Regions from separate parts of the Homo sapiens genome. Here regions 2, 3, 4 and 5 are each linked to region 1. Evidence: promoter capture Hi-C in human tissues and cell types (Jung and others, 2019). All regions are on one chromosome and are shown on one strand. Each heading gives the region's core, a stretch centred on a gene start or on the middle of the fragment in contact. The rest is flanking DNA. Distances are from core to core; before and after follow the strand shown. Region 1 holds the start of PSAT1 (phosphoserine aminotransferase 1). Region 2 overlaps GCNT1 (glucosaminyl (N-acetyl) transferase 1). Region 3 has its middle 3.1 kb from the start of LINC01507. Region 4 overlaps LNCARSR (lncRNA regulator of Akt signaling associated with HCC and RCC). Region 5 has its middle 62 kb from the start of FOXB2.

What was found. Contacts are between HindIII fragments. The study calls those that stand out against the background at their distance.
Region 2: a fragment that was not itself captured here is called in contact with the fragment with the promoter of PSAT1 in region 1 in 1 of the 25 tissues and cell types used here (sigmoid colon).
Region 3: a fragment that was not itself captured here is called in contact with the fragment with the promoter of PSAT1 in region 1 in 1 of the 25 tissues and cell types used here (heart left ventricle).
Region 4: a contact is called between a fragment that was not itself captured here and the fragment with the promoter of PSAT1 in region 1, in 1 of the 25 tissues and cell types used here (dorsolateral prefrontal cortex).
Region 5: a contact is called between a fragment that was not itself captured here and the fragment with the promoter of PSAT1 in region 1, in 2 of the 25 tissues and cell types used here (H1 embryonic stem cells and spleen).

What each region holds. Positions count from the first base shown.
Region 1 is chr9:78,293,572-78,299,218 of GRCh38, reverse strand. It overlaps PSAT1 (phosphoserine aminotransferase 1), which reads right to left and starts at 2,094. Exons shown (of 9, transcript NM_058179.4): 1 at 1,949-2,094. The coding sequence starts at 2,008. RefSeq lists a silencer at 1,489-1,728 and enhancers at 1,681-2,264, 2,265-2,848, 2,739-3,008. The HindIII fragment of the contact is 7,295 bases long and covers 1-5,647 here.
Region 2 is chr9:76,463,587-76,469,233 of GRCh38, reverse strand. The region is part of intron 2 of GCNT1 (glucosaminyl (N-acetyl) transferase 1); the gene reads right to left. Among named protein-coding and RNA genes, the nearest start is that of GCNT1, 7.2 kb to the right of the region's middle. The HindIII fragment of the contact is 4,539 bases long and covers 1-4,456 here.
Region 3 is chr9:79,818,588-79,824,234 of GRCh38, reverse strand. No RefSeq gene overlaps it. Among named protein-coding and RNA genes, the nearest start is that of LINC01507, 3.1 kb to the left of the region's middle. The HindIII fragment of the contact is 3,223 bases long and covers 809-4,031 here.
Region 4 is chr9:79,555,265-79,560,911 of GRCh38, reverse strand. The region is part of intron 1 of LNCARSR (lncRNA regulator of Akt signaling associated with HCC and RCC); the gene reads left to right. Among named protein-coding and RNA genes, the nearest start is that of LNCARSR, 9.9 kb to the left of the region's middle. The HindIII fragment of the contact is 4,637 bases long and covers 1-4,543 here.
Region 5 is chr9:77,078,553-77,084,199 of GRCh38, reverse strand. No RefSeq gene overlaps it. Among named protein-coding and RNA genes, the nearest start is that of FOXB2, 62 kb to the right of the region's middle. RefSeq lists an enhancer at 2,982-4,181. The HindIII fragment of the contact is 5,140 bases long and covers 841-5,647 here.

The DNA.
Region 1 (5,647 bases), core at 845-3,344:
TTTTTTTCCAGTTGAAGAATGCATTGCTTTTGTGGATCATAACCAATTTTTTTTTTTTTTTTTTTTTTTTTTTTGTTAAGAGACAGGGTCTTGCTCTATCACCCAGCCTGGAATGCAGTGGGACAATCACAGTTCACTACAGCCTCAAACTCCTGGGCTCAAGAGATCCTCCCACCTTAGCCTCCTGAGTTGCTTGGATTACAGGCGTGCGCCACCACACCCAGCTCACGACTAATTTTTTTAATGAAACAGAACAGACTAGAGCAGGATAGAATACAAAATAGTGTATGTCACAGGTAATTAGGCTACACATCATTTCATAAGGCATTTATTTTTGTTACAATTGAATGTGTATACTTTGTCATTTTGTAAACATGTTTTTCACTGTAGGTTACAGTCAAAAGAAGTTTGAAAGCTTCTCTAATATTTACAATTCAACTAAATCAAGGAAATACATAAAAAGCAACATCTGCCTGCCCCCTCACCCTCCTGCCCCCCAGGTTACATGCAGTCCAAGGGCAAAAATCCTCCCAGAAAAATTAATAACAAATAATTGTATTACTGATGACAATTGCCATTACAATTATAGTAATAAATTAATAACGAAATACATAGGGAACAAACGTTGGGAACACTCCAAAACATGGGGGGTGCAGGAGGAGGCTACAGGAAACATCTCCACAGCTGGAGCAGGGAATCTCGCCTAAAATGAACTGTAACCACTGAGAAAAAATAAGCCCTGTCCTCTCAGCTACTGTGAGCGCTGCCCCTAGAAAAGTAAGAAGTCCTTTCCCCTTTAAAATTGGATTCTCTGTTCTTACCACAACACAGAGGAGGCTCTGTCCCAGGGAGATTTCTACTCTGCTCAACAATTGATAATTGTAAAATACTTGGCTATGCCTCATGCTGCTCCAACATATTATCAGCTCTATCCTGGTTAGAAAAATAAAAATCTAACGGCGGCGGCAGCCGCCTGACAATGGGCTCAAGGCACATCGGAGACTTTGCCTTCTTCACTGCGGGTGGGGCTGGGGACGGTGGGTTTGGCGGGGGAGGGGAGGAGCCGGGCTGGGGCCTGGGAAGGCAGAGAGTGAGTTCCACCAGCAAGATCTGATTGTGGCCCGGGAGAGAATTCAATCACTCGGTTTACTCCAGAACGAAATGAACAGGGAATTGGGTTAAGCAGCCCAAAGTCTACCAGAGTTAGAATACTCGAACGCCTTTAGGGGACAAGCAGGTTAAAAAAAGGAGGGGGGTGGGGAGAAAGGCTTTAGGAAAGGGTAGGTTCTATGGGGGACAAGGAGGGGAAAGCTGGACTGAAGGTTTTCAAATTTACATTTCTGAAAAGCAGTGTTCCTAAGTGCTGGCTAAAGCAAACACTGGTGTAAGGCGTAGGGGGGCACGCACACGCGGACCTTTAAGTTTGCAATCCCTTTCAGCTAACGTGATCCACTGCATATGCAAAACCTGTCATCGGTTCATTCCCGTTCATCACTCATTCACACTATGTCCATTCATGCATCCGCTCCACACTGCCCGGGCTCGCCGCACAGCTGCGCGAGGCGAAGGCAGAGATCAGAGCTTTTTCTTTTTCGCCCCGCCCCAGCCCCCGGACCGGCCCAGGAGATGGCACAGCCCGGGCGTCTGCAGGTGCGTGGCACCGGCGGGACAGCAGGCCCCGGCCAGCTGAGTCGTGCACTGCCTCGCACCAGCAGTCAGGGCCAGGGGCAGCTGCACGGGCACGCCTCGCCGAGCTTCCTCACCAACTGCATTCTTCCCGAAGCCCGCTTGCCGGAGCTGCTGATCCCGCTGTGCACGCTGATGCAAAGCGCCTAGGGGACTCAAGGCAGGGAGCGGGAATCCGACTGCCACACGCAGGGATGCAAACCCACCCGCGTGCGTGCTCCCGCCTGAACCTCACTCCCGGCGCCCGCTCGCGGGGACTTACTGAGTGCGGCAGCTTGGCGGGACCAGGCCCAAAGTTGACCACCTGCCTGGGGGCGTCCATGGTGCGGCGGCCAGGGCGGTGAGTCAGCCAAGGAGGACCGAACGCGTGAACGGCTGGCGTTCCTGGCCGCTGCGGTGAGAGTCTGCAGCCGGCCCCGAACCCCCGCCTTGTTCCTGCGCCGAGTCGGCGCCCCATTGGCCCGTGCTGTCGCAGGCCCTGCGCTAATTGGTTCGCGCGAAGGAGCTCACATCCCCATTGGTCGCGCTTCTGAGCCGAGTCGAAGCAGTTGCTCCTCCTCGCGTTTACTGTTTCAACCCCCATTTTTGATCAATGCAAGGAGCGCGCGAGATTGCGCCAGCCAGCCGAGCCGGCTCGGCTGCGCGCCCGCCCGAGGATTGTGGGCGGCGGGAAGAGGCTGCCCCTGCCAACCTGCCTTCGCCCCTTGAGCCCGCAATCTGGCCGGTTCCAGTCCTCCAACCCCAGAGGACCTCAGCTCCTCTCTCTTGGCTGAAAGGGCAGTTGCCGAGCAGATTTGTAGCCCCCATCCACCCACCTCTCCACCACCAGCCCCCAGTTTGGGCTGTGATGTATTTGTTCCAGAACCACCAGTCACTAATCTACCAAACTTTTCTAAGCACCCCCCACGGGCGTCAGATACCCCAGTGGAGAGAGAGGACCCCCCCAAGGTTGGAAGCGCAGGATGAAGAAGGGCCGGGGGTGGGTGGATACGGTTCTTTGTATTTGCACGTGGGTCCTGAGTTCCTGCAGGATTAAAGAACGGAGGTGGCCAAGGACGCAGGGAGGAGCGATAGCCTGGGAAGCGTGGATGCCCGCCAGGCAAGTCCTTTAAAGTCGCTGATTCTCCATTTCCTCCTTTGGGAAACGAGTGAGCTGGAAACCTGCGACAGCTCTCAGGTTGCGCCCGCGCTGACAAGCTGTGAGTTTAGAAACGTGAGGAGATATTAACAAGAACGCGATACCCATAGGGCGCTGCAGCCCAAACCAGAAGAAGGTGGCCCCTAGCCAGGCCAGGCGCAGGGCCAGAGCTGCTCAAACTTTTCCACAGAAGTGTCCTTCTCAAAAGAACTCCAGTGGAGACCCGCATGGGGTTCTGAAACAGAATACCCTCCCCCTACCCTGCAAGAAAGAAGTTCCTTTGAAGTCTGGAATTTCATCATTTTTAAACTGTGAATTTTGCATTCTCTACCATAATTTAACCTAGTTTCTTTTAATGTAAAAATATTTTCCCTGTCTGAGTAAAATTGATGCGCCAGGAATATATACAGTCCAACTGCCCCGTTTAGAGAAGGCTTGTAACTGGACAGGACTTTGGCTTTTGTTTGCTTTTCCTAATGAGAATGTGGGCGGTATGGGGCTGAGAGCAGAGGCACTGCTCTGGATCTGGGAATTGGAGGACAAAGTTTCCAGAAAAAGGCAAAATGAACAAGGCCCCTGCGTTCCTCAGCAACTTCATTAAGAAAACCGCGACATTCAAGACAGAATAAATCTCAGCCCAGAAACTCAGGCATGCAAGAAGCATCACATATCCATTATTTTACGTAAATAACTCAGTTATTATATATTAGTAGCTGCCCCTAGCAGCTTATCTACTGGAGACTAAGGGAGTCAGCCTTCATCCTTCCTGGAGTTAGTTCCTAACACCAGGGCTATACACAGTCCCATGTAGTGGGTTGGGAGAAGGGACAGCACATCCATTTGGTCCTCTGTTCCCAAAAGATATGGCTGAGTTGTTTCCACTGCCCAAGCTGATGTGGCTGCTTGGGTTGATGAGCAACCTACTACTTCTGTATCCCACTAGGGGCACAGGAATTTGGGGTGGGGTGGCGGTGGCTATTGTCTCATCTGCTAAGACATCCCCTGCAGCCATTCCTCCCGGGGGTCCTGCAGTTTCCAAGATGGTATTTCAGGGACACAAGTCACACATACAGTCAGCCTCAGGACCCACTGACCTCTGTTTGTCTTCCTCCCGCCCCTGGGCAATCTCCTTTTCAGTCTAGAGAAAATCTGTCTTTTCCATGTTTCTTCCTCACACTGTGCCCACAAACACCTTAAACCAGAGCCACAAACTCAAATGCCTCCAGGGGCCACTCAGGGATATGAAACAAGTAGTGGGAACTGTGGCAAATTGAGTTCACCTGTCCATTTGTGGCACAGGTGCACGCGGCCACTGCACATTTATGATTCCCCCATCCATGGGATAGGGTTGATGGCAGGAAGTGGCTGCTCAAACCGGCTTCATGTTTCCCAGCTCCCTTTGCATCTAGGTGAGCCACATGACTGGGTCCCCCCAGTGGAATGTGGGCCAAGTGGATGTGTGTCACTTTCAGGCCAGGGTGGTTGAGAAATGGGTGTGCTTCTCCACTTCCTTTTTCCCATTCCACAGGCTGAAAACAAAAAACTCCCTGGCCCCTAAGGACAGTGGAGACACAGCAAAGAGGGAGCCCCAGGTCCCTGAATCACCTGCACCAGACTTGTCATATGTAAGTGAGAAATCAGCTTCTTTTGTGCTATGTCACTGAAATATGAGAGGCGATTTGTTACAGCAGCTCACATTATCCTGATTATTATGCCATCCTAAATGCAACAGCTGAAGTTCAGATCCAGCTGGTTGTTGCCAAGCAGGCAAATGAAGTTGCTTGAGCTGTCTTCACGTTTTGAAAGAAAACCCAGGAACCCAGATTTTTATGTGACATCTCATTTTTAAACATCTACAAATGTAAATTTCAGCAAAACACTGTACAGATCAATATTTTGAGGGGCAAACTCCAGCTTATCTGAGGCCTTATTGAGCCTACAGGTAACAAGCTCTCTGAAGGACTGTTTATAGTGTTCTGCCCCCAAATTTCCTCCAGTTCAACAAGGAACACCCTCAGCTAAGTGCTTGAATAAAGCAGCAGCAAAGGAGGAAACATAATTTAATCTCAAAATATTATTTTGTCCTTCTTGCCTATTTTGCACTGATCTATAAAGACAGTCCAGGCCGGGCACGGTGGCTCACGCCTGTAATCCTAGCACTTTGGGAGGCGGAAGCAGGCAGATCATGAGGTCAGGAGATCGAGACCATCCTGGCTAACACGGTGAAACCCTGTCTCTACTAAAAATACAAAAAATTAGCTGGGCATGGTGGCGGGCGCCTGTAGTCCCAGCTACTTGGGAGGCTGAGGCAGGAGAATGGCATGAACCCGGGAGGCGGAGCTTGCAGTGAGCCAAGATCGCGCCACTGCACTCTAGCCTGGGAGACAGAGTGAGACTCCATCTCAAAAAAAAAAAAAAAAAAAAAGACAGTCCAGAGGAACCCCTGCATGTGGGAGGGATCCTTCCCTCTTAGTAGATTCTCATTTAGCAAGTACAAAGAAGCTTCTTTATGAAATACATATTTCGTAAAAAGGCAGAAATTCAATTTTCACAAGTATTATTCATTGAGTACTTCTATATGTGAAAGATGCTGGGCTCTGCTGCGATTGCCAATCAGACCCAGCCATCCTGTTTAGAGAGCAGTGAGAAGAGAAGTAGGCAACATGAGCAGGGGAGAAAATCTATTTGGAATGAGACAAGATTATTTCTGCTGCCCTTTTTGTAGTTGGAGCTAAAGATCCTTTTCCCTTATCATTATTCCCAGAGAACGTGAGGAAGGGAAGCTGGGCCCAGTGGCTGACGCCTATAATCCCAGCACTTTGG
Region 2 (5,647 bases), core at 938-3,437, 1.8 Mb after region 1:
TCACTATTGTACTAATAAATTACATGTATCATAATTCAAAAACTTGGAGGATGCAATAAAACTTATTACTTCAATTATAGTAGTGCACTCTTGGCTCTGCTACCTAAATCTTGACACTTAGTTTCCTCTATCCACCAATCACATAGTTTTTTGGCGAAATTTGCCCAGTGGGTTTCAATCAATTGTAAAGACTAATCAAAATAGTCTGCAGGTGCCCCATAAAGTTAACAAATGGATTAAAAACTCATTGTTACTTTTCAATTAAAGTAGTATGACAATTCTGTTTCCCAGTTTTTAATTTTTTTTCCTTTGAGAGCTTTGATAACTCACAAATGTACAATATTTTTTGGCAATATGTTCGCATTACAATGAAAACTTCTCCACACAGCCACTTCCCAAATGCCCCTTGGTAGCAGAAATTTCTTTTGAAAAGTAATTCACTGTAAGAACCTCACATTTACCTTGGATTTTTCCCTTCTCCCCAAAATATCTGACTACTGATAGGCATAGCAAAATTGGAAAGAGGCAACACATTTGAAACCCCATCTTTCTGCTAAAGAGAGATGCAGACACCTGTAAACTCAACCACTCTTACGTATCTGGCAACAAAAGAACTAGGAATGCTCTGATGGGTGCAAAGGATGGTCCTGCTCCCTCCCCAGGGCATGGCAAAGGACGACAAAGCTTCTACAGACTAAAGCAGTGATTCTTTCTCATGCCATGACATATATACCAAAAGGTAACCATCAAACATCAGCTTCAGCTCTCTTGGCTTAAGGGAGAGGGCTGAGAGAAATGCAGTATCTCAGTACACCTATCACCCGCTCAGGGACAAGTCTAACCTGAGATGCTCTAATTTAAAGCCTTTGTGTTTCTAAAATTAAACAACTCGATGACACTCTATAGCTCCTAACTTGCAACATCTCACAGTATGCTTGATGGCCAGGTGAGCAGGGCTCCAGCTAGGCAAGGAATCCCTGCCTCCTTATCCACCTTAGAAACCACATTCACCGTACAAGACACAGGACTGAAGGAGGGTCGGCGCGCGGTGACTCACGCCCGTAATCCCAGCACTTCGGGAGGCCCAGGCAGGCGGATCACCTGAGGTTAAGGAGTTCGAAACCAGCCTGGTCAACATGGTGAGACCCTGTATTTACTAATTAGCCAGGCATGGTGGCATGTGCCTGTAATCCCAGCTACTCAGAAGGCTGAGGCAGGACAATTGCTTGAACCTGGGAGGTGGAGGTTACAGTGACCTGAGATTGTGCCACTGTACTCCAGCCTGGGCGACAGAGCAAGACTGTCTCAAAAAAAAAAAAAAAAAAAAAAAAAAAAACACTGAAAGAGGGACCACTGGCATTCTTGACCTTAAATGCTTATAAAATTATAAATAGAGGTTCTTACACTTCCTTTCAACACCCCCAAAGGACTGTCCTTCGCTTCCTGCTTTGGATACCAATATAATCTCAACCTCGTTTTCTGTCCTACACAATTGGTCTCAGCCTTATTTTCTGTTCCACACAACTGACAAATGCAGTAAACTCCAGGCAGCAGGGGCTGGAGCTCAACACAGAAGAGTGGCTTTAACTGGACTCAGGGCCACTCAACAGGCAAGTAGCTCTCAATCTGGTTTGTACACTGCAACCACCAGGGAGCTTTCAAAAAGGACCAATAACGAGTCCCCCTACCAGAGATTTGATGGAATTGATATAGAGTTTGACCTGGGTGTCAGGTTTTTTTAAAAGTTCCACAGGTGTTCCTAATGTATAGCCAACACCGAGAACCATGACATGGAACATGAACCTGCATGATGTGGAAGGGGCTTGAAAAGGTCCTTCCCCTCCAGGACTGTCACCCCTAGTGGCTTTGATGCCCATCAAAAGATCAGCTGAGGCTGGGTGAGGTGGCTCACGCCTGTAATCCCAGCACTTTGGGAGGCCAAGGCGGGTGGATCACTAGGTCAGGAGATTGAGACCATCCTGGCTAACACGGTGAAACCCCATCTCTACTAAAAATACAAAAAATTAGCTGGGCGCGGTGGCGGGTGCCTGTAGTCCCAGATACTTGGGAGGCTGAGGCAGGAGAATCGCTTGAACCTGGGAGGCGTAGGTTGCAGTGAGCTGAGATCGTGCCACTGCACTCCAGCCTGGGCAACAGAGCAAGACTCCATCTCAAAGAAAAAAAAAAAAGATCAGCTGAGCATTTACTGCCTTTAGTTAACAAGCCTGTAAGGTCAAAGGTAGGAAGCAATTTGTAGAAAAAGTGGTGCAAGGCTATTTCAGGTGTACAGGGCCAAGCTTCAAGGTAATCATCATTCATAACACTTTCCAGGGAGCCAAACACAAAGCTTGGCACTAGAAAATGCTTACTAAATGCTGGCTGAAGAAATATCTGACTGCACACACAGACACACCCCAAACTCAGCCAATGGTTTTGCCACTTCCTTCAGAAAAAGTCCTCACGATTCTGGACCCAAAATCTAAAGCATCTTTATCCATCCTCTCCCTCCGTCCTTCCATCAAAGACCAAATTCTGCACTGTGTTCTCACCCTCTCTGAAAACTGGTCCTATCATTTATTTTACCCTCCTGCATCTTTAGGCTCTTCCTCTCTACCAGAAAATTCCCAGTAGTGGCCAGACACAGTGGCTCATGCCTATAATCCCACACTTTGGGAAGCCAAGGTGGGCAGATTGCCTCAGCTCAGGAATTTGAGACCAGCCTGGACAACACAGATGGTGAGACCCGTCTCTAGAAAAAGAATACAAAAATTAGCCAGGCGTAGTGCTGTACACCCTTGGTGCTACTTGAAGGCTGAGGTGAGAGGATGGCATGAGCCCCAGAGGGTGGAGGTTGCAGTGAGCTAAGATTGTGCCACTGCACTCCAGCCTGGGCAATGGAGAGAGATCCTGTCAAAAACAAAACAAACAAAATCCCAGTAGCATTAGAGCATGTTTAAATTTCTTCCATCTCAATCTGAAACAAAACAAAACATCATAGACCCCTCATTTCCTCCCTGCCCTGCATGAATATCACACTTCTCAGTACCCTTAACAGGCCTCTCTTCCTCTACCAAATACAGTGATCAAACTCTACGGGTCCAGCCCTTTTCTTTTCTCATTCTACACCCTCTTTGGATGAGTGCTTTTTATGCAGTAATACTTACATGCAACAGCTCCCAAACATGTATCTCCACCCCAGATCTCTTCCAGGAGTAGCAACTGTCTACTCCTCATCTTTACTTGGATGTCTCACAAACAAAACACACATCCAAAAAGGCATTATCTTCCCTCCCACACCTCGTGCCAACCCGCTCCTCCTCCTGTGTTCTCAATCACCATAATGGTTCCACCATCCCATCCTACTCAGTTGTTTATGCCAGAAACTTTTGAATCATCCTTGCTACCTCCCTCTCCATCAACCATATCCAAATAATCACCACCTTCTTGCTGATTTTAACTACAAACCCAATCTCACTCAATCTCAATCCTCACCTGTCATTAAGCGTTATCCAGTGCTGCTACGCCATCACTGGGTGACTGCAAAAGCACTGTTTGTTCACATCCACCCTCCTCCTCCCCAGGGTGGCCACATGATTGCACAGGCTGTGCCTGCGTAACAAGTCTGGCTCAGGGGGCTGAAGCCTTTTGACCTGGCCTAGCTGGGACACAGTGGTGCATTTTTTCTAATTGGTCCACACAGAATAGAAGCCTTTCTTGGGTTTGCACAAAGACACCAAACGTGCCAGCAGGACCTACCTCTCTAAACTATTCTCTACACAGCAACAGCGATCATTTTACAAACTCAAATTAGGCCAGGTGCGGTGGCTCACACCTGTAATCCTAGGACTTTGGGAGGCCGAGGTGAGAGGATCACTTGAGGTCAGGAGTTCAAGACCAGCCTGGCCAATATGCTGAAACCCCGTCTCTACTAAAAATACAAAAATTATCTGGGTGTGGTGACGCACATCTAATTCCAGCTACTTGGGGCAGAGGTTGCAGTGAGCCGAGATTGCACCATTGCACTCCAGTCTGGGTGACAGAGCAAGGCTCCGTCTAAAAAAAAATAAAAAAAAAAAAACTCAAATCAGAGTCAGGCACAGCAGGGCCTATGCAGTCCCAGCTACAAGGGAGGCTGAGGCAGGAGGATCACTTGAGCCCAGGAGTTTGATGGCAGTGTGCTATGATTGCTCCTGTGAATAGCCACTGCACTCCAGCCCGAGCAACATAGCAAGACTGTCTCAAAAACAAAAAAATCTCATTGGAAACTGGAGAAAATGAACTGGAGGAATGTGAGCAACACTACTGCCTGCCCTAACAAGGAAAATTGAGAGGATATTTCACCATATCAGGGATCTGCCTAAGAACATTTCTGAGAAGAATGTAGGAAGTGCTATCTGGCCCAGTATCTGCCTTTGAGAAAATGTGAGAGAGATGAACTAAAGAAGTATATTCAATTTTTAAGTAGAATTTAGAGAAAACATGAAGGACTCAGGACTTGATGGGTTTAAAATAAAACTACTTCTAGTCAGATATGGTAGCCCATGCCTATAGTCTCAACTACTTGAGAGGCTGAAGTGGGAGGATCACTTGAGCCTAGGAGTTCAACTGAAGTGTGCTATGATCTCACCTGTGAATAGCCACTGCACTCCAACCTGGACAACAAAGTGAGACACTGTCTTCAACAAACAAAACAACCACAAATCAAAAACACTTTAGTGGCCAGGGATGGTGGCTTACACCTGTAATCCCAGCACTCTGGGAGGCCAATGTGGGCAGATCGCTTGAGCTCGGGAGTTTGAGACCAGCCTGGGCAACATGGCAAAACCCCATCTCCATTAAAAATACAAAAATTACTCAGGCATAGTGGCGTGTGCCTGTAGTCCCAGCTACTCAGGAGGCTGAGGTGGGAGGATCACCTGAGCCTGGGAGGTGGAGGTTGCAGTGAGCCAAGATGGTGCCACTGCATTCCAACCTGGGCAACAGAGTGAGACCCTGTCTGCAACAAACAAACAAACAAAAAGTGGGTTTCCACTATGCTGACATTAAAGTCCAAAATCCTAAAAATGACCCAAGACATATTTTACTCTTGATCTCAACTCTTTCAGCCTCTAAGTTTATCCCCTAATGTACTTCACTAACTCCTACTAATCCTTCAGCCTTTTTTTTATTATTATTTTTACAAAAAAAAAAAAAAACAAAAAAAGAGATGGGAGTCTCGCTATGTTGACCTGGCTGGTCTCAAAGTCCTGGCCTCAAGCGATTCTCCCATCTCAGCCTCCCAAAGTGCTAGGATTACAGGTGTGAGCCACCATACCTGCCCCCAGGCCTTATTTTAAATATCATTTTTTAAGCAGGTCTTCCCTGAACAGTCCCTCTCCCCTCAACCAGGTTAGGTCTCAAGGTCACATGCTCCCCTAACACCCTGTGCTTTCCTAAGTACCACTTAAGATTGTGATAGCCTGAGCCGGTGTGACTATGTGTTTGGCTCATAAGCTCATAAAGGCAGGGACCCTCCATCTTGTTCACAGCTGTGGCCCTGGAGCGAGCAATGCCGGGCATCTAACAGATGCTCAGTAAATAGTTGTTCAATGAATGCCTGAATAAATAGGTTGCTCCAGTACCCATGACTCTAATGAACAAACATTTG
Region 3 (5,647 bases), core at 1,171-3,670, 1.5 Mb before region 1:
CTTCTCCAACATATTTGGTAATTTCAATATCCATATATATATATGATCTTTCCAATGTCCTAGACTCGGTTTTTCGAGGCCCTCTTTTCCAACTCTCACATTTTCCACCCTGCCTCAACCACTCCCTCCAAATGCCATACTCTATCCTTATCATTACTAGTAAAGCAATCCATAACTACAATTTCAACCATTCTGTCTTTCCAGCTCACTCTCACCAATGCCCCAACTCCAAGAAACCTTGACCCCACTAGGAGCTATTAGCCATTGACTGCTTAAGCTTTTCTTGGTCCCTCAATTTCCTCCCCCACCTAGATTAGATCTGATGGTCCATCATCTCACACTCTTGCATACATTCTTAACAATCTTGTTAAGAAGATTAACAAGGCCCAAGGCCAGGTTAAATCAACTCAGTTTACTCTGCACACCAACACAGATGGCCACGGCTGGAGAAAGCCACACAGCTTGCTACGGCTGGAGAAAGCCACACAGCTTGCTGACTGATCTCATTTTAAGTTGATGACCCCTACCTTCAAAAAGGTCTCGAGCTCTGCCCATCAATCATTCCATATTTCCATAATCCATTCACTCCCCTGTTACCCTAAACTGGTGATTTTCAAACTTGAGACTGCCACAGAATCACCTGGAGGATGTGTGGAAACTCAGATTGCTGGGTCCTGACCCCTAAAGTTTCTGAATCAGGCAATCTAAGGTGGGCTTAAGAAACTGCATTTCGAAGCCAGGAGCGGTGGCTCATGCCTGTAATCCCAGCACTTTGAGGTCGAGGCAGGTGGATCACGAGGTCAGGAGATCAAGACCATCCTGGCTAACATGGTGAAACCCTGTCTCTACTAAAAATACAAAAAAATTAGCCGAGCGCGGTGGTGGGCACCTGTAGTCCCAGCTACTCGGGAGGCTGAGGTAGGAGAACGGCATGAACCCAGGAGGCGGAGTTTGCAGTGAGCCGAGATCGCGCCACTGCACTCCAGCCTGGGTGATAGAGCGAGACTCCATCTCAAAAAAAAAAAAAAAAAAAGAAACTGCATTTCAAACAAGTTCCCAGATGATGCTGACCCTGCTAATCTGGACCACACATTGATAACCACTGCCCTAGATGATTATTTCTTGACTTTTTCTTTCTTCTCAAACCTCCAACACATATTTTCCATCCTTACTCTCCATTGATGACTTAACTTGCACTCACGCACACGCACACACACACACACACACACACATCAGAAAAGAGCTTCCCAAGCTCCTGACCCCAAATCTCCTTCCTTACTGGAAACAGTGTCCATATGTTTGTCCTTCCCTCCTGCTGCTATAGCTGAACTGTCTAAGCTTCTCCCTAAAGCCAACACTTCACATGCATCCTAGATTCCATCTCCTCTCTCTTACGTAAACCCGACTCCTGAAACTTCTCCTCTCCCATCACTCTCCCTACATCAAGAATTTCTTCCTCTGTACTGGGTCATGCCCATCAGTGTCAAGTGTCTTAAAAAGAACCCCTCCTTACCCCCATATTATCCTCTATTTCCCCTTTACAGCAACATTCCATGAAATTTGACCTCCTCAGTTTTCTTCAAACTCAACCAGGTACACCCTTACCTCAGGGCCTTTGACTTGATTTGTCTCCATTCCGAAGTTTCTATAAGGCTGACTTGATCCTCTCCTTCAAGGCCTTAATCAAATGCCATCTTGTCAATGACATTGACCAACCCATTAAAAATTGCAACATCTGTTTCCCAGTGGCCAGAGCTCCCACCTCTCAACTCCGCTGACCACCAGTCTCCACTCCTCCTCTCACCTTTACTACTCACAGTCTGAAATTCAATCTCAGTTGGAATTAGGTGATAATCGGCATTAGGCAAAACTAACATCTTTCAGACAGGGCTTCTAAGAATGCTCTTTGACAACATCTAAATTGGTTAAGGCCTTCCTGTTTTTTCATCCTCTTGGTTTCCACACTTTGTGATGAAGTTCATGACCAATTTGACACTTCATGGCTTTGTCTTGAGTGTATTTAAATGCCATTGGGTCTTGGAGACTAACAGATTTCTCCTGAGGCCTCTTCAAATGTAGCTTAATTCTTAATATTTTTGTGGCTTTTGTTAATTTAAAAGACAGATCTGTAAGACCTACCTCATCTTCCTTTCTGTCTACTCATCCATCTCTATATTAAATCCTGCCTGGATACACCAGGAAAGAAGAAGAAGAAAAAAAATGGCATGTCCTTGTCCTAAAAGAATCACCATGTCAGTTGTGTCAGAGGAATTCCTATGTCATTCAAGAGGTGCTCAAGTGCTCTTAAGAAATCTAGCACTGGCTTCAAGCAAGATCCCTGGTACATCACATCATCTGCAACACAGTGAACCAGAGGGGAATGAATTTAGCTGAATCCAGCAGAAAACATATGCTGTGTAGTACTTGGGAAAGAAAATAATCAAAGTGACAAAACCAACGGATCACCCTGAAGATTGAAGGACACGCAATTTCTCCTCTGCACAGTGCCCAGATAAAGGAGAGAGCTCATACGAAAACCCCAGACATTAACGAAGGAAAAAATGATAATTAAAATATTTGTGGAATCTCCTTCTAACTAGAACTCTACCACTTTCGCTTATGGGGATAGTTGGTCAGCAATAAGAAAAAAAATGAAATCTCCATGTTAAAGATTTAAAAATAGGTGAATTTTACATACCATGGTTTCTCTATTTGAGTGATATAAAAAATAAAGACCCACTGAGGCTTTAAGTACTGCAAGTGCCCCAGGCAGAAAGATCAGGCATGGTTAAATTATTACATAGTCCATCATTTGTGTATCATGTCATCAGAGGTGTCAGTGAGGAAAAGAAGTGTGCCTCTTCCTTCGTGTTGGCCAAAGTGACAGAAATCGGTGTTCAGAACTGAAATGATGAGCGCTTCACATTAGAAGAATGCACATTAGAGCATTTAGACCTTTCAGTTATCTTATGTTAAAACAAAATAAATAAAATAAAAACACAAAATTTTAAAGGAAGAGGGGAAAATGCTAGGGCAATCAGATCAGGAAGACAAAATCTCCCCCTCTGGCAAGGTTCAGAAACATTCTGCAGCAGAAGTTCTCCACTTGTCAGAAGAATTTATTTTTCCAATTCCTTTCTCTTGGGGAGCATGCGTTTCCCCAGCAGATATGAGAATGACCTGATTCTCCCAAGGTAGCAAACTCTCAACTGGAACTCTGTTGCAGTCGCTCGTAGAAAATTTCCTGTTCCATTATTGCACCAAATGAGCTCTGGGCTAATCAGACCCTCTAGGGAAAGGATAAAAAATAAAAAGCACCCATCCCCTAAAGCGAGACTCTGAGCTGCTTTGAACTACATTTACAGCCTTAATATAACCCAAGAGATTTCACAATTCACATGAGAAGCTAAACCCTTCTTCTAATGAAATATTTATTGGGTTTATCATGGAGAAAAGGAGAACAATTTTTGATGAGCATATTCTTCTATTTATTGTGTTCATTAGAAGTGCCAGTGAGAGGTTTCAAAGTAATTTTTTCATTGTTGCTTGGGATGAAACATATAATTTTCATCATAAGCAAGATGACCGTAAATAGAATACAATTCTTGCAGAGTGCTGCCCAGGTGTTTGGTGAAGAGGAGGGAAATGTGTATCAAATGCCTCCTCCTGCACCTTACTGACTAAGCCTTATGTTGGCAACTCACCCCTGGTATGCACTCTCTGCATTCTGTAGCTTAGTGAAGGATTTTGCCAGGCCAAAATAAAAAGACTCTAGCAAAGAAATCAAGATCCCAAAGCAAGCAACTAGTGAAAAACACACTGGGGAGATGGTGCTGCTTGCCCTTAGAGCCTTGAGAAGACAGAGGGTTGCAGCCAAGCAGTCCTGGTGTCCACCGGACAGGAGAGGGAGGGTTTAAAACTCCACTGATTTCGTGGTGCTCTCTTTTGCCTAATAATATGTGTATATTTAACGCTCACTTCATACTGAGGAAAAGTAACAGACTCATTATTTTATTACAGGCAGATATTCTTACTCCGTTTTTTGTTTTGGTGAAAAGTGTGCCGACACAGCACTGAGCATTCCTCGGCTTCCAACTGCCACCTCTTCTCCCAAGGGGTAAGAAAGCTGTTATCACTTCCATGCTAATAATAGAAAATTTAGCACAACTGCCTTCCCATCTTTCAAACTACTTCAATATTTTAAAAACAAAAAACAAAACCCCCTTGGCTCAAGAGGAAGAAAGAAAAGAAAAATTAGATTACAGTTGATCAGATCTGAAAGCAGTTGTCTAACGTCTCTGTGCAGGCTTTTTTTCCTGTAATTAAAAGAAAAAATTTTTTGATGTCTCACTTTTGTCCTATCAATTATGAGAAAACTGAAGTACCAACATTACACTCCTCGTCCTGCATTTCCTGCCTGTCCCACCAGGCTGTTATTTATTTCTTCCTTAGACATCAACTCTCACCTAATGAACGGGTGCTGTTATGAAAAAGAAATTTAATTTATATAAACATTAATGTAATACCCAAGGAACTTGCTGAAAAATAATTTTTTTTTTTTGAGATGGAGTCTCACTGTGTTGCCCAGGCTGGAGTGCAATGGTGCAATCTCAGCTTATTTCAACCTCGACGTCTCAGGGTCAAGCAATTCTCCTGCCTCAGCCTCCCAAGTAGCTGGGACTACAGAAGCCCGCCACCAAGTCAGGCTAATTTTTGTGTTTTCAGTAGAGATGGGGTTCCACCATGTTGGCCAGGATGGTCTTGAACTCCTGACCTCAGGTGATCTGCCCCCCTTGGCCTCAAAAAGTGCTGGGATTGCAGGCGTGAGCCACCGTGCCTGGCCAAGATATAAATTTTAAGTGCATCTCTGGTTCATAGTCCAAGTAAGTACAGCTCACTGGGTCATGTGAATTTTTTGTCCCTCAATATTAAAATGTAAGATTATTATATTAAAATGTAAGGTTATTATTATAAAAATATAATCATGGCACTATTTAGAATTTAGATAACACCTTTCTTCTTAGGAACAACATATCTGGAAATAGATGACCTTATTTCATATTCATTACAGTCTTGTATGTTAGAAGAGGTATTCTATGCTGGTATACTTATAAGAAAGAAAGAGGAGTCTTAAAAACTCAAGCATGTTACATACTAGAATGGAATTGGAGCACCAGAATTAAAATATTACATGAGAAATTCACAGAAGTAAGGCTACTCAGTCACTCATTGAGTTCAGAGTTTGTAATCACCCCCACATGGTGCTAAAAACTTAAACCTCCAAAGTGTTCCCAGTCCGCCAGACCAGCGCATTTGCCTAAAGCAATTTTCTGACCTGAAGAAGGACCAACTGAACCAACTGCATTAGAATTCAACATGGTCCCGTTAGCTGGGCTTGGTGCTGCTTGGTTTTCCTGGGATGTCTGGCTGGCAAGAACTCTACCTTTAGTGGCAAAATGGGGGATGGAAGGATTGTAGAATTGAGCTCTAAGGATAGAACAAAAACTGCTCTGAATATTCACATTTCCTTTCTTTTGTCTCTCAAATGTTGTTGTAAATGAAATTATGTCAGAGTAAAACACTAATAAACCAAAGTGGGTTGTTTTTGTTTTGTTTTTTTTTTTCCTACTATGGAGAGCAGCCAGTC
Region 4 (5,647 bases), core at 976-3,475, 1.3 Mb before region 1:
TCCATTGAACAAGGTTAAATTCTAATTCATTTGGAATTGTTTTCATGTTCTGATGAATAATCAAATGGCCTATTCTTTAAGACCACCTTTTTACTTTTAATTCTCAGCAGAGAAATAATCACTAAAATTAGTGTTTAAAATATAGAACTAGGAAACATACTTAAATAACTTTCCAAAGCCTATAGTTACCATGATACCCTGGGAACTTAGAAATAGTTTAAGTTTCAGGCATGGTAACATGCAAAAAATATTCAATCATAAAGGAAGATATCTTGACTAGCAGACACACACACACACGCGCACACACACACACACACACACAGCCCTGTGTGTGTCAGCAATTGATTTCATAGATAATTTCCTGTCCACTGATGACTGCCCCCAAATCTTTCTTTAAGGGCAAGGGAAAACTGAGAGTACTTAATAATATAGCTTAATTAGCTGTATTTCTTATATTTACACTAATAATGTTCTGATATACTTGTTTTGATAAGATTAGAAAACAAGCAAAGCTAGTACAAGGCACTATATTGTTTGAGAAGATCTTTGATACATTTTAGCTTCACTGTTCCATAAAGATTCTTTTTTCTCAGTAGGCTTCACTTGAGATAGTCTAATATAAAAAAGAATATAATATTCATAACTTTTTTTTTGCTAACAAACTTAGATTTATGAGAGACAAACATCAGAGATATCAAAATTTCATGTCAGAGTTGAGAACAGAAATAAGCCGAATTCAACTTTTGTTTTCTGAAGCCCTGCTGAATACATTGTCTGGATTGTACCACAGAATGCTGAAAGCAAAACACGGGTGGGTCTATCAAACAATCCCTGACTCTGTTTATAACAACTGAAGCTGTGCCTTTCATATCGGATTCCCATCAGAAAGGGCAGGGGGGAGGAAGAGATAAGCTCATCAGTGAAATAGTATCCTTTAACAACAACCAGTTACTTCCTGCAATCAAAACCATGCTAGCATGTGGCTTGTTCAAATAAAAATTACTGGACTGGAGCCAAACAAGGAAAAAGTAATTGATAATGTGGTTTTTCAGAAACCATCCATCCATCAAATGTGTCAGTCCTTCATAATACTTTATTTCCCTTCTGAACAAAGATCTTTAAAATTCATTGTGTGCACTTAAAAACAAAGTGTCCTTGTGCTGGTTTATAAAGATTCTCTTTTAGTTTGGGTTTGTTTTGTTATTTGATTACATTCCCTCCCATCCTGCATTTTTTTTCTCCCAGATAGTTGCTGGAAATTTCTGCCATTCTTAAACAAAGCATCTTTGTGCTGTATCAGCTTGCATTTTCCTTGGATTGTGTTTGGATGATGCCTTTTCACTGACTTCAGCACTGGAGTATTGTAGCCATAGCCTTAGTAAGTAGAGTGTAACAAACAGATTCACCAGCCCTTTTTGTGTGTTGCATCCTATTAATCGCTGGTGAGAAACACTTCTTGGAGTAAGGCACAGGGCCTATTACAAATAGAAGAAAAAACGGGTGAGGAAATATTGGATCATACTTGCAACTAGAGAAAGCCATTAATAGTCATCATAAAAAGAAATGTCCCCCTTCTAGTAATTCCTCCAATACATATGACAATCTTATAACTAAAACTTTTTATTTATTATAGGATTCTAAAGATCAGTTTGCAAAACTGATAGTACGTTAGCTCACCAGCGGTTTCCAAAAGCAACATCTATAAAGTAAATTTCAGCAACATTCACTCATTTCTCCTCTTTATGACTTCCATATTAAAGCTGGGCTTACTAGAGATTTGATGCTACACACATACACACACACACACACACACATTTTGCCCAGATATGAGCAAGATCTTGTCCATATCTTGCCATATCTTGCCCATATCTTGTCCAGATATGGGCAAGATCACACCTCAAAATGCATAAAGAGATATTAGTTTCCCAAAAATTATATTTTAAATTATAGTTCTACGATTAAAACACTGAAAATATGAGAAATAATGAAGCTTTGGTGAAGAAGAAATGCCACGTGATTGAGACTTTTTTCACTTCTTTCAGCTACCTCTTTTATAAGTCAACACAATCATATTATGATTTCTTTTGAATACTTCTAGCGCTATCAACTATTGACCTGCCAAATACTTTAGAATTGTAGTTAGATTTCGTCTTCAGTGTCTTAGCACATGCTACCAAGGAGCCAGGCCCTTAGGAGATAGTTATTCCTGGGAGGCAGCTAAATCCTGGCCAGAGAAGCCACTCGTGTTACCTCACCAGGCATCTCAGGAAAGTTTCTTTTTAAAGAATGCCAGGAAGAAAAAGTTTCAGTAACAGCACAAAACCTCTATATTACAAGTCCTGCTTCTGAAATTTCTCTTTTGGCCTGCCCCAAATTAATACTAAAAAAGTTACATTCATACCAAGATAATAATAACAATTTTTATTTGTACCTTTTTTTGCCTACGAGATGTTACTACTAGAATACCAAAAAGAAACAAATGTTCACTCCTCATCCAAAGATTGCAACACAAAGAAATACAAAGTATATAAGGCTTCAGGGTTATTTTTGGTGGGACAGATATTATTCATTTGGAAATAGCAAAGATATCAAGTACTAAGTCATCATTCCTGGTGAGTTCCTTGAAAACAAGACCTAATTTAGCTTTTTTTTGTGTGAGAAATTACAAGAAAGTCAATGATACAAATTATATTTTCAAAGGTACTCACAAAAAAGAACTAGAAAAACACATATAAATATTTTCATCCTTTGTTTTTCAGCTAGAATTTGCTGTATGTCAAATTTGTCCATTGTTTCACAGTAGGTCTTGTGAGAAGATAAAAATGAAACAGAATAACTTTTTTTTGTAATATTTTAATGTGCTTTGACTTTGTTTTGTATTTTCTCAAACTGAACTTTTCCCTATTCTGCCAGAGACATCTGAAAAACATGCCTCAGAGAATTTTTGGATTGTTATAGATATGGTTCAAAATGAAAAAAAGACCTAATATTCAATTTTTGATATTCAAAAGGGGATTATGTCACAAGTCAACCTATTGTTGAAAGCCAGGCTTTGTCAAAACAGAAATAACTTTCCAGAATAATCATATTGTGACATCAAGAGCTAGGCATGAGGCTGGGAGTGGTGGCTCATGCCTGTAATCCCAGCACTTTGGGAGGCTGAGGCGGGTGGATCACCTTAGGTCAGGAGTTCGAGACCAGCCTGGCCAACACGGTGAAACCCCGTCTCTACTAAAAATACAAAAAATTAGCCAGGTTTTGGGGTGAGTGCCTGTGATCCCAGCTACTCCGGAGGCTGAGATAGAAGAATTGCTTGAATTCAGGAGGCGGAGGTTACAGTGAGCCCAGGTCACACCATTGCACTCCAGCCTGGGCAACAAAAACAAAACTCCATCTCAAAAGAAATAGAGCTAGGCATGGGTGACTAGATAATGATTTCTTCCATGGAGAGGAGAAGCTAGGCAGTGAAGCTTGCTACCCTGGGATAGCAGAAGGATATAATGATAGGAAATGAAAAACCCCAGACTTATTCCTCTTGGTCTGAGGGTTGTGGGAGGAGAGGAAGGATAGTAGTGGTTAGGCTACCATCTTTTCTCTTGGGGCCAATGTTCCTTGGGTAGACATGTATATCAGAAACATAAATCATTTAACTGATTTAATAAATATCTTTTCACGCTTTTCCATATCTGAAATCAGGATGCATCAGGATGTGTCACAGCTTTCTGGGCATTATTATTAGGTTATTATTATGTTATATTATTAGTAGTAGGAGTAGTACATAGAACAATGGTATATCTCAACACCAATGGCATCTTAGAGTCAACGAAATGTGTTAGGTTGAGGAGAAAGGGGAAGAGAGTGGCGTCTGTGCTCCTTTCCATCTAGGACTCTGTCCTCACAGACTGCTCTCAGCAACCAGGAAGGCCATATGAAAGTAAACCCACATGTCGCCCAGGGTGAGGTAGAAAGTGGACCTCCTCCATCATTTTCTGCTTCTCCATAGCATGAATGAACTCTAGAATATCCAAGGAGGGTCTGGAAAGCTCAAGGAGAGTTAGGTAAGAACCTTCTAGGAGGAGGGCAGTCACTGTGTTAGGGGCAGCAATTGAGGACTGCCTGGCAGAGTGGCTGGGCCTGGATCTCCTGGGAGTCCTGCACCAGCAAGGGTGAACATGGGACTAAGTCACCAGGGAGGTGACCAGCTCTAGATCAAGCTGAAAAAGAAAACTGGCCATGACCTACACTAGTCCCAGGCTCTAGGACCAGGTCCCAGCAGAACCTTCTGGAAAGAAAGCAACCTTCTGTGGTCATTAGTTTCCCAGCTCATGGGTCTTCTGCAGTAGACCTCATGAGAATCCAGGGTGGACTCTGCTGTTCTGAGGACCCTGTCTCCCAACTACTACACAGAGCCACCCAAGCCCCGCCTCTTCAAATGGACACAGGAGATGTCTTGGGGAAGAACATGGAGCAAACTCACAAATCTGAAAGACTGAGCATTTCTTCCAAAATAAGCTGAGTGTTAGGTAGAAAAACTGCCAAAATTAATGAAGAAGATGAAATTTCCTGGGGTGTTAAAATAAGTTTAGCTGTTTCTTTTTTCTTGCTGCCCAGTTAGGTGTTTATCAACTAATAGAAAAATGAAAGAAACTAGTTTCTATCAATATCTGATTAGTAATATAAGTGAATGTGTAATGAAGACACTGCCCTCGAGAAGTCTAGAATCTAAAGTGATAACATGAGAACATACATAAATATAAGTTACCTTTAACACAAATGTCTATGAGAAGTAGACCAACTATCTATGTCTTTGAGAGATAGACCAATTATGCATAAATAGCAAATTGTGATTCTATGATCTGTATTGTAATAGTAACGGTGTTTTATTGGAACCAAAGGATACTGTCATTATTAGGATGATTACTTGTGTAGTAGGAGTGTGCTAGGTGAACAGGGTAGATGTCACCAAGTGGATGGACCATTGTGTCACAATGACATAAAGCACATTGGAACATCCCTTTTAATTCAAATGAATCCCCTCTTTATAAAGCTGGGCTTATTGACTAAAGACCATTATCATGTAAAGAATGAATGAGAGGAAGCCATAAAACATGCTCTTTCACCCCTTTTGTGTTTATAGCTACCCAGAAATGAACATCAATATTTAACTGTCTGGATTATTTTAGGCTTGTAAAAAACCAATTAGCTATGACTCGGTCCCAGTGTTTGGAGCCTTCGTGGAGCACAGTATGGGAGTGTTTAGTTCTTGTGGTCAGAAGCAGAGAGCTTGGAGAAAGGTTAGAGTGGCAAGGGTCATTGCTGGGTTAGTGGGGTCTCGTGGGATGTTGTATCCTGAAGGGGCAGGCCGGGGCCAGGTTACTATGCAGCAGCCCTTGTAAGGCAGTCAGAGAAGGCTTCAGCTGGATTGTTGGCAGCACACAGAACCTTTGGCCACAAGAGCTGCATCCTTGAAAATACATCACAGACTTGAGCCTTTCATTCCAGGCAGTTTAGGACCACCCCTGCCTTCGGGTAGAAACCTCCAGGCTTATAAGACCTTAGTCAGCTGGAGTAATTCTGATTCCTCTGAATAAATAAGTCCTCCTCTCCAATCAAAGCTTACATGTTTTTGTGTGAAAATAAACCCCCA
Region 5 (5,647 bases), core at 2,161-4,660, 1.2 Mb after region 1:
TAATATGTTAAGTCTTTCTTTTAAGCTTGTGTGATGTTGGCATGGTTCTTTAATGAGATTTTAACTAGATTTCCTTTACTATCTGCAAAGACTAGAAGAGATTTTTTTTAATGTTGAAGAAGAGTGATCTCTAACTTCAATGCCGTTAACCAATATTTCCTTTAATGCTATTTGTCAATCAGATGTCTTGTCCAGTAACAAACTATAGTATTTGTGTCCACTCTGCACCGATGGGATATGAAGCATATGTATTTACAAGGTTCAAGAGAGATAGGTTAAGGCGATAGGCTTGAAAATTTTATAATGAATAGTTTTTTGGGGGGTAGGCAAAAGTTTGCGGGAGGAAAGTATACATAATTTGAAGGTATCACCTTACTTTGTAATTCATAGAAATTGTTTGAGATGAATACAAACCTCGGTCCTCAAAAAGTATGTGCAGCTGCATTGCCTGGCTGCACAGTCAGGAAGATTTATTTTCAAAACTCCGCAAGCTACAGGCCCATGATTTTAAAAGTCTTTAGTCCTTTAAGCAGTAAATCAGCATTCAAGTGGCTGGTTAATCTCCCAAGGGCCAAAATGAAGTGCTCTGACCTAGATTATAACAGACTGACTGTTAGAAAACTCTTTCGGTAAGACCAAACCTAGGAAGCATGAAGTATAAACAGAGCCTGCAGATAAAAATTGCTGTGTTGGAGTCCTTCGTCACCTTCTCCTTGTCTCCTTTGAAGACTCCTGTGGACTTGAATCAAAAAAATAAAATAAAATAAAATCTTTTATTATGGGGAGTTGGTACCAAGTATTACAATTTTGTCTGACAAACTTAGTTTTTTAGGTTCAGCAACCATGAAAAGCCCTTAGCTCCTGTCTGAATTCTCAGCCTTTTCAGCTTGGAGATCTCATGGACTCTGTGTTACTACTGTCTGTACTTTTGCTCATCTATATTTTCAGCACACATTCAAAGCGAGAAGGCCACACATCAATGCAATCCATCACACCAAGGGATACGCTCCATTGTGAACAATGGCTCTGCCTAACAGTTGAAGAGGCCTTTAATCTCCTCGTATTTATCTAAGTTTACCAAAAAATTAAACCTCCTAGTTTACCCAAAGGGTAGGTCTTGGCTATGTGTAGATATTACCTTTTTCTAGAAAAGTCAGATTCTAAGAAGTATAGATGTGACAGAATCTTCTCTTTTCTCTCTGGAGGTTCAATATTTGAGTTTCAGAAATAAACTCGGCAGCCAGGCACAGTGGCTTATGCCTGTAATCCCAGCACTTTGGGAGGCCGAGGCAGGCAGATTACCTGCGGTCAGGAGTTCGAGACCAGCCTGACCAACATGGTGAAACCCCATCTCTACTAAAAATACAAAAAAATTAGCCAGGCGTGGTGGCAGACACCTGTAATCCCAGCTACTCAGGAGGCTGAGGCAGGAGAATCGCTTGAACCCGGGAGGCAGAGGTTGCAGTGAGCCGAGATTATGTCTCCGTACTCCAGCCTGGGCAACAGAGCAAGACTCTGTTTCAAAATAAATAAATAAATAAATAAACTCAACAGTAGACACATTAACAGGACAAAAGGGATACAAATGTATTATGTGCATACACACAGGGCTCCCACAAAGTTTGAGACTCAAAGAAGGCCAGATGGGTTGAAGCTTAAATAGCATTTTGAGCTACAGAAAGAAATAGGAGCTGGGGGCTCCTAGGGGATGATGACAACAAACTATAGGAGGGTGAGGAGAGGAACCGCACTGCCAACAAAGGTTGTCTTAATGTGCAGATAAATTCTCTCAGGTAGCAGCTCTCAGAAGGATAGGTGAAAAGTCTGTCTGGATGTGGTGTCCTGGGTATAGACCTTTAGTCTCTTTTCCTGAGATATGAGTTTTGTTGTTGTTGTATTGTTTTTTTGTTTTTTTTTTTTCTGAGACCGAGTCTCACTCTGTCACCCAGGCTGGAGTGCAGTGGCACGACCTTGGCTCACTGCGACCTCCACCTCCCAGGTTCAAGTGATTCTCCTGCCTCAGCCTCCCAAGTAGCTGGGACTACAGGCATGTGCCACTGTGCCCGGCTAATTTTTGTATTTTTAGCAGAGATGGGGTTTCACCATGTTGGCCAGGCTGGTCTCGAACTCCTGACCTCAGGTGATCCGCCCACCTCAGCCTCCCAAAGTGCTGGGATTACAGGCATGAGCCACTGCGTCCGGCCTACCAACACCAGTTTTATCTCTCCACACATTTCCTCTATTTTATGTTTATGTCTTTACCTTACAGGTTATTTGGTTAAATATGATAGAGGTCAATTATTTATTTATCCTGTTACAAAAAAATGTGTCAGCCTTCTGATTTATACTTTCAAAGACATTTAAGAAAGTTAGGACATTCAGGCCAGGTGCGGTGGCTCACGCCTGTAATCCCAGCACTTTGGGAGGCTGAGGTGGGTGGATCACGAGGTCTGGAGATCGAGACCATCCTAGCTAACATGGTGAAACCCCGTCTCCACTAAAAATACCAAAAATTAGCTGGGCGTGGTGGTGGACACCTGTAGTCCCAGCTACTCAGGAGGCTGAGGCAGGAGAATGGCGTGGACCCGGGAGGCAGAGCTTGCAGTGAGCTGAGATCGTGTCACTGCACTCCAGCCTGGGCAACAGAGCGATACTCCGTCTCAAAAAAAAAAAAAAAAAGAAAGTTAGAAAGCTAGGACAAACAACTTATAGAAATGGTCTGCAATGAGTATTCAGAGTATAAGTCACATACTAGAAACCAGTAAAATACTCTTGTGTCTAAGAAATAGTCAAGAAACTTGCCCTTTTGCTGCTTATATTCACAGTTTTCCAACTTTCATCTTCAAAATCTTTACAGTTTTGGACTGGTCAGTCAAAGTGCAACCAGACCTATATAATATTTATTCCTTTTCCTCAAAAATCCTCTGTGGCTGGTATACCATATGAATTACTGTGCCTTGAGTGTTGCCTGTCTGATGGCCTCAGGTAAATCTTTGTAATAAATTCTTGTGGGGTCCCATGGAGCTGTGGTGTTTGCCTGCATGCCCCATTGCCAAATGACAACCATGGGTCAGGCATTCTTTCCCGGGTGACTCATAAACCAACATACACGAGGCTGGGTGCAGTGCTCATCCCAGCACTTTGGAAGGCCGAGGTGGGCGGATCACCTGAGGTCGGGAGTTCGAGACCACGCTGACCAACATGGTGAAACCCTGTCTCTACTAAAAATACAAAATTAGCCAGGCATGGTGGCGCATGCCTGTAATCCCAACTACTTGGGAGGCTGAGGTAGGAGAATCGCTTGAACCCGGGAGGCGTAGGTTGTGGTGAGCTGAGATCGCACCATTGCACTCCAGCCTGGGCAACAGAGCGAAACTCTGACTCAGAACAGAAAACCAAAACCAAACCAAACCAAACCAAACAAAACAACCCAACATAACACAGTCTGACAATATTTCTTCCAGGCCTGGTGCTTGATCGTTGCTAATCAGTGGGAACACAGAAAGAAGATGGGTCATGACTTCTTCATATTTCCTAATTAATTGCAACCACTATGAGACGTAAGAACTTGAACCAGAGTGATTTAGAGAGCAAATTTGGTCTTCCCAATCCCCAGAGTTAGATCTTCCATGATGGTGCATTCTTCCTGTCCGGCTGCTGCTGTAGAAATTCCTGCAAAATTAAAGGCAAAGGTTTTCATTTCCTGATGGGGTTCTGGAGGCCACTGTGCTGTGATTTTCAGGAGAAACAGGGAGAGAACGACTGTAATTCCTCGAGAGGCCCTGAAAGGTCACCATACCTGAGTGTCCTTGAATTTATTGTGGTAGAGATGGTAGGGGAGGGCTCACTTGAAACATTCTCCCATCAGGGTAGTTTTTAGAAATTCTATGTCTCAGCAAGACTAACTGTTTAACATGTTCTCCATACCCTGGATTACCGAAATGCAGCTTTCACACTCTCATTGAAACTGTCTTTGCAAAGATTAAGACAGGCAGAAAAGTCTAGCATGGCTGACTCCATCTTGCTTCTAGCCTCACAGGCTGGCTGTCTTCACTCATTCCTAGGTGTAGGCCAAGCTAACGATGGGAGGAATTTAGTTTGTAATTTAACTTTGAAACAGGGATAATAACAGCCCCTCCCTAAAACTGCTCCCCTCCTTTTTCAGGGGCTGAAGCTGCCTTTGTAAAACTAATGAAAGGCCACAAGATTAGGATCATGGGAAGAGCCTGAATTCTGCTAAAACGTAAGTGAAGATTCTATAATCCCTTACTGCTCAGGAATCATGTGGCTAGAGGTCACAAGATTTGCGACTTCTCCAATTGCTCCAGTAGATAACATCACTATTGTAGAACCTAAGATTGGTCTTTTGAGATGTTTTTCAGACTAACCCCACCTGGACTCATGATTCAACCAGTCCTGTGGCCCCCAACCCAGAGGGAAACAGCGCACAAGGACCGTTTTCCACACCCCTATGATTGCGTCCCCAACCAATCAGCTGCACTTATTCCCTCTTCCCCTGCACACCAAACTATCCTTGAAAAACCCAAACCTCTAGGCCTTTGGGAAGAATGATTTGAGTACTAACTCTGTCTACCACATGGCTAGGCTAGTGTCAACTGAACTCTTTCTTTACTGCAGAAATAGTCAAGAAACTTGCCCTTTCGCTGCTTATATTCACAGTTTTCCAACTTTCATCTTCAAAAATCTTTACAGTTTTGGACTGGTTAGTCAAGGTGCAACCAGACCTATATAATTTTTATTCCTTTTCCTCAAAAATCCTCCATGGCTGGTATATCATATGAATTACCCTGCCTTGAGTATTGCCTATCTGATGCCAATCTATTGCCATCAGGATGTTGCCTATCTATTTCACAGTCTCAGTGAATTGTTTTTTGTCTGTGCAGTGGGCAGGAAGAACCTGTGAGACGATTACATCATTTTCTCAAGTTCTCAACCTATCAGGAGCTGAAATGCCACTTGAAGCACACACTATGCCAGATATCAGGAAAGGAGTAGAATTGGTAGTTAAAGCAACTGGAATTTAGATAGAGAAACAGCAGTCACCATTAATAAGGGTTGCCTCTCTAGTGCCGTCTCAACTGATTCTGTATAATTTTTCTGTCTACTTTATCAACAAGTGAGGGATGGGTGTTGAAAAATCTCCAACTACAATTATGGATTTATCTATTTCTCCTTTCAGTTCCATTTTTGGTTCATGTATTTGGGAGTTCTCTGCATTAGTTTTGAATGAGCAAATCCTGCCATTTTCTTGAGGTTATATTATCAATGGTATTAGGAGGTATAAAAAGCAGAAGAGGTTTAGAAACTTTAAAAAACAGAATAATGTCAATTAGAAACTGATGATATTTATTATCAAAATCTAAAACCAAGTTTCTTCATCAGACCAAGAACTAAAGTTTGTGTGTATGAGAGTGTGTATGAGTGTGTGTGTGTATGTGTGTCATGGTGCACCAGAAGCAATCTTCTCCATTTGTGTGACAATGTAAACAACAGTCACAGGAGTTCTACTGCAGAAGGTTTGTGTAACTTCCACCATTTCCATCAATAAGAGGAAACAAAAAATTGTGTGAGATCTAAACACAAAATTGTATAAGAAATAAACGTATAAAGCTATGACTCCACTTAC